Regions from separate parts of the Homo sapiens genome. Here region 1 is linked to region 2. Evidence: promoter capture Hi-C in 16 types of primary human blood cells and fetal thymus (Javierre and others, 2016). All regions are on one chromosome and are shown on one strand. Each heading gives the region's core, a stretch centred on a gene start or on the middle of the fragment in contact. The rest is flanking DNA. Distances are from core to core; before and after follow the strand shown. Region 1 overlaps PPP1R12C (protein phosphatase 1 regulatory subunit 12C). Region 2 holds the start of TMEM238 (transmembrane protein 238).

Evidence for each region. Contacts are between HindIII fragments. The CHiCAGO score rates a contact against its expected background, and 5 or more counts as called.
Region 1: a contact is called between a fragment that was not itself captured here and the fragment with the promoter of TMEM238 in region 2, in 11 of 17 cell types (fetal thymus, activated CD4 T cells, naive CD4 T cells and 8 more). The highest score is 9.5, in fetal thymus.

Annotation. Positions count from the first base shown.
Region 1 is chr19:55,110,180-55,112,879 of GRCh38, forward strand. It overlaps PPP1R12C (protein phosphatase 1 regulatory subunit 12C), which reads right to left. Exons shown (of 22, transcript NM_017607.4): 2 at 2,486-2,616; 3 at 2,288-2,406. Among named protein-coding and RNA genes, the nearest start is that of PPP1R12C, 6.1 kb to the right of the region's middle. The HindIII fragment of the contact is 402 bases long and covers 1,250-1,651 here.
Region 2 is chr19:55,382,842-55,385,541 of GRCh38, forward strand. It overlaps TMEM238 (transmembrane protein 238), which reads right to left and starts at 1,451. Exons shown (of 2, transcript NM_001190764.2): 1 at 881-1,451. The coding sequence starts at 1,418. The coding sequence ends at 888. RefSeq lists silencers at 957-1,046, 1,337-1,676 and enhancers at 1,051-2,013, 1,967-2,036, 2,067-2,136. The HindIII fragment of the contact is 6,498 bases long and covers 1-2,700 here.

The DNA of each region.
Region 1 (2,700 bases), core at 201-2,700, 270 kb before region 2:
AGCCTAAATCACCCAGATCTGGATCCCTAGCTGGGCCCTGAACCAGAGCGGGAGAGGCTACAAAGAATGTCAAGGAGAAACGCAGGCAACAGTGTAGCATCAAGGTTGGTGCAGTGGGTGAGAGTGTAGCATCAAGGTTGGTGCGGTGGGTGAGAGTGTAGCATCAAGGTTGGTGCGGTGGGTGAGAGTGTAGCATCAAGGTTGGTGCGGTGGGTGAGAGTGTAGCATCAAGGTTGGTGCGGTGGGTGAGAGTGTAGCATCAAGGTTGGTGCGGTGGGTGAGAGTGTAGCATCAAGGTCAACACAGGGGGTAGCGTGTTGCATCCCTACTGTGGTTCTGCAGGAGGTTTTCCTTGTGGCAGGAGATACCTGCTGTGCATCAGGCGAAGATGTACAATGCCTGCAACACAGTCTCAGAATGGCCGGGCTCACGCCTGTAATCCCAACACTTTGCGAGGCCGAGGCCAGCAGATCGCCTGAGGTCAGGAGTTGGAGACCAGCCTGGTCAACATGGTGAAACCCCATCTCTATTAAAAATGCAAAATTAGCTGGGCATGCTGGCTCACGCCTGTAATCTCAGCTACCCAGAAGCTGAGGCAGGAGAATCGCTTGAACCCAGGAGGTGGAGGTTGCAGTGAGCCGAAATCATGCCATTGCACTCCAGCCTGGGCAAAAAGTGAAACTCTGTTTCAAAAAAAAAAAAAAGGCTCAGGAATGGAAAGGCAGGGGTGGGGTGGTAAGAAAGGAAGGGAGAGATGGAGGGAAAAAAACAGGAGGAGAAAGGATAGGAAAAAATGTGTTTATGTCTATACCTGGGAAGAGATCGCAAGGGAGGGACAGAGAGAAGGAACACAAATCTATCAAAAAGTTAAAAGCTGATGATTCTATACTGTATGATTCCCTTTATGTGAAGTGTACAAAACAGCAAATCCACAGACAGAAGGCAGAGAGGGCTTCGTGGGGTGGGGGGGAGGGGGGGGTGCATGGTTGGGGGTGATGGCTAAGCGGTTGCAGGGTTTCGTTGGGGGATGATGAAAATGTTCTACAACCAATGTGGTCATAAATGCCCGACCCCGTGAATAGACTAAAAAGCACTGAAGTGTGCACTTTGGGTGAATTGTAGGGTAGGTGAATTACATCTCAAAAAGCTGTCTAAAAAACAAAAACAAAAAAGAAAAAGCACTGGCGAATCTTAGTGAAAGTCATATGGGTAGTCACATGCTATTGCTTCAACTTTTCTGTAAATCTGAAGCTTTCCCAAAATAAAAAGTTGGAGGAGGAAGGAGACAGAATCCAGGTCCAGGGCTGATTTGACCCACTCCCCATTTCAACCAAAGAGGGGCTCCCGAACCTCAGATCTCCGCCGTCACGTGTCCCACTAGCTAGTCCTCCCGCATGGCTCTCGTGGACCCCTGAACCCACGCGGAATCCTATCCTTTCAGCCTGGCCAGCGGCCCCGTCAGGACAGCCGCGTCAGAAGTCTCGGAGGCTGCCGGTATCTCATTTCCTCGTCAGTCTCCCTTTCCTTCCACACGGTCCCCTGGAGTCTGCCGGGAACCATGCTCACACCCTTCCACTCCAACCCAGCCAGACCCTGACAACCACCCCATGAAGCGGCACCAGTGGTCCTGTTTTAGGAAATCAGGGAAGCAAGCTTCAGGGACGTGCCTGGAGTCACCAGTCACAGGCAGAGCTGGGAGGCAAGCCCAGGACTTTAGAAGACATGCTGGGGACCCAGGGATCCTGTGTGGCCATCACACACCTGCTAGAAGCAACACCCCTTCCCTAGAAAAATGAACCTGGCCAGACACAGTTTCAGGGGCTCCTGGACCCCATATGAAGGCTCCTGGGGTACGATGAGTCTCAGAGGACAGGGAGACCAGTCCCTGGCAACCCCTGCATGCCCCTACTCCCCCCCAAGTAAACGCATCCCCTCCCAGAAAGACCTGCGGCAGGGTTCCAGCAATCCTACCTAACGCACTCCTGGGTGAGTCCCTCCACCCACCCACCCCGCCCCGGCATTCCAATCCCCTCAGTTACTCAGGGGGATTGACAGTCCCAGTTGGTAGGGGTTTGAGTTCTCATCCTGTGCGTGTGCTGGGCTCCAAGCAATCCTGGAGGCAGGCCCCTACACCCCCATTTCACAGGTGAGGAAACTGAGGCACAAAGAAAGACAATCCTAGGAAGCAGGGTCAGCCTCGGTGCCCAGGCCGCCTCTAAAGCTCTCAGCCTGGAGACCACGGGTGAGGAGGTGTCCCCCACCCCACACACAGCACACCAGAGCCCACCTCGGCGGGCGATCTCCGCCTTCAGCAGCCCCTCCATGGCGTCCGACTCGGCCAGGTCCAGGGGCAGGTCCCCGTCACTGTTGACGGCGGCGATGTTGGCCCCGTGGCTCAGGAGGTACCTGGGGGTGGGGGCTGGTCAGGGCTGAGGGTCCAGGCCCCCACCCCGACCAGGTCCTGCCCGGCCCTCCCTTGCCTCACCTGGCGATATCTAGGTAGCCACAGGAGGCGGCCACGTGCAGTGGCGTCCAGCCCTCGTTGTCTGCCTGGTTCACAGTGGCGCCCTGCTCCACCAAGAAGCGCACCACCTCCAGGTTCTCATCAATGCAGGCCTGGGGGTGGGAAACAGCCGTCAGCCGCACCTACCCCAGCCACGGTGTCCCAGCAAGTCGGGACTCCAGAGGGAGCCACGAAAA
Region 2 (2,700 bases), core at 201-2,700:
CCTCCTTTTCTAGGCCTACAGGTCAGGAAAATCCCAGCTCCTCCTTTCCTAGGCCTACAGGTCAGGAGAATCCCAGCTCCTCTTTTCCTAGGCCTACAGGTCAGGAGAATCCCAGCTCCTCCACCTACGTGTTGTGTGGCCTTGGGCAAATGTGGCGCCTTTCTGCGCTTCAGTTTCCTCCACTGCAGAATGGGGATGGTAATAGTAGTGACCTTGGAGACCAGTTACATGGAGAGGATTAAATGGGGCCTGGTCTGGGCTCAGTGGCTCACGCCTGTAATCCCAGCACTTTGGGAGGCTGAGGAGAGCAAATCGCATGAGCTCAGGAGGTGGGGACCAACCTGGCCCACATGGCAAAACCCCGTCTCTACTAAATATACAAAAATTAGCCCGGCAAGGTGGGGCGCACATGTATTCTCAGCTACTTGGGAGGCTCAGGTGGGAGGACTGCTTGAGCCTAGGAGGTCGAGGCTGCTGTGAGCTGAGATCACGCCACTGCACTCCAGCCTGGGTGACAGTGAGAGATCCTGTCTCAAAACAACCCCAAACGACAACAAAACAAAACAAAACAAAAAATGGGGCCTGGTGTACCTGGAAGCTGGGGCTCTCCCCGTGCGGGGGGCCTAACTGTGTGACTCGACCCCCACACTTCCCATCTCCAGGGGCAGGGTCTCACAGCCTCCCCCACGTATGCACCTGTGCTTGCTGTGTCTGCGGTTCTCCGCCAGAGCCTTCCCGTCCCTGTCTCCACCCCGCCCTGGGACTCTACCTCCCCATGGCCGCTCTCTGTCTCCATCTGTCCATCGCTCCCCCGTCTGTCTCCATTCCCGTCCCTCCCTCGGTCCCTCCGTCTCCCCGCCCTGCCCCGCCCGCCCCTCACCTGGGCCTCACTCGCTGCCCGCGCCCGCCGCCCCGGGCCCGGCCTCGAGCGTGGCGAGCTGCAGGCGCACGCGGCGGGAGCCGGCGGCGGGCGGCGGGGGCGCGCGGGCGGCTCGGCGCGCTCTCCGGGAGCCGGGCGCGGGGCGCTGGCCCGCGGCGGCGGGCGCCGACCAGCGGCGGGAGAGCTTGCGCGCCAGGCGGGCGAGCGCCGAGGGCCGCAGGCCGTAGTCGCGCTCCAGCTCCTGGCGCGAGATCTCGATGTTGCCGGTGTACCAGAGGATCCAGCCCAGCAGGCTCAGGAACACCAGCAGCGCGCCCGAGTAGATGAGCAGGTCCCCGAAGTCGCGGCCGCGCACCTGCAGCTGCGCGAACACGCCGGTCAGCAGCGCCGCCATGCCCGCCACATCCAGCGCCACGGCCAGCAGCAGCGCCATCCGGCAGCGGCCCAGGCCGGCCGCGGGTGCTGGCGCGGCCGCCGGCGCGGACGGTGCACCCGGCGGGCTCCCCTGCGAGGCGCACACCGCTGGCGCCGCCGCCATGGCCCTGCACCGCCGCCGCTGGCGCCCAGAGAGAGCGTTCCGGGGTGCGGCCCGGTCCGGGGCGGGGTCAGGGGACGGCGCCAGGTGTGCCAAGCTCCCGCCTGGTCACCTGAACCGGGCTGGGCGCGAACCGGCGCGGCCGGGGTTACCCTGGTCGTGGTTTCCGTGCAGGGGCTATTGCTCAGAGGCCTGAGCTGGTGGTAGCCAGGCGCACAGCCACGGGTGCCTAGGGCCCGTGCCACCCAGGGAGGTCACATATGGCCAAAAATCAGGGCATTTTAGTGGTGGCAGCATGGGACACTCGGAGCCGGGCGTGGCGTTGTTTCTGCTCAGTGTCCGCCTCCCGAAGCCTGTGCAGATCAGACAGTGCAGATCAGACAAGGCCTTTAGACACCAAGGAGCTCTGGGACGCGAGAACCAGTAGTCGGGGTGATCTAAGAGGGGAAGCTCCGGGTTCCGCGGAAGCTGAGTTTCCTTCACTCAGCGCGTGTCTTCTGGGGTCTCCTGTGTTCAGCGAATGAAGCCACGGGCACAAGGACGGACGAGACCCATCAGGTCCAGAGCGCACCCGTGGAGGAAGCTGGGCGAACCCCGACTGTCCTATGGAGGATAGTCCTATGGACCAGACGAAGCCCCTGCCCCAAGGAGTGCCCGGGTGTAACCGCAAGTTAAGGAGCCCTGGGGAGGTGACACAGGCACCCTCATTCCTTTTGTTCAGTAGGAGTCTCTGAGGCCTCCCCAGCACCATGCCGCGTGGGTGAGGCCGAGGACACAGAGAAATATCAGGCAAGGCTCCTGCCCCCTTAGGGTGGCCCTGACAACGGATCATAACCTCCCAGGGAGCTGATGGGGTGTGACAGGCACACCATAGGCTGGAGGCACAGGTGGAGGGCAGGGAAGAGGACCGGCAAATCTATAGAATCCTAAAGGGAGCCAAGAGAAGCCACATGCAAATCTCCCTCCCTCCAAACAATTCTCCCTTAGAGGGCATCCGCGCTCCCCTGGGGTGGCAGTCAGCGAGAAGTTTCCGTGTAGGTTCTCCCCAGGCTTAAACAGTTTAAGAGTTTTATTTCAAGAAAACCCTGGGGAGGGCGAACTGCAAGAGGGCTGCCAGGATTAGCCGAGGGATTCCGAATGAAGACGGAGTATTTCCGAACATACACACCTCTCCCAAGAGCGTTTCCGGAGGGTTCCGAAAATACCCGAGCGGGCCTCGGCGCCCTCATTGGCCATCACCGCGAGGGCTTACGAAGACCGGAAATATCCAAAGGTGCCGGGGCTA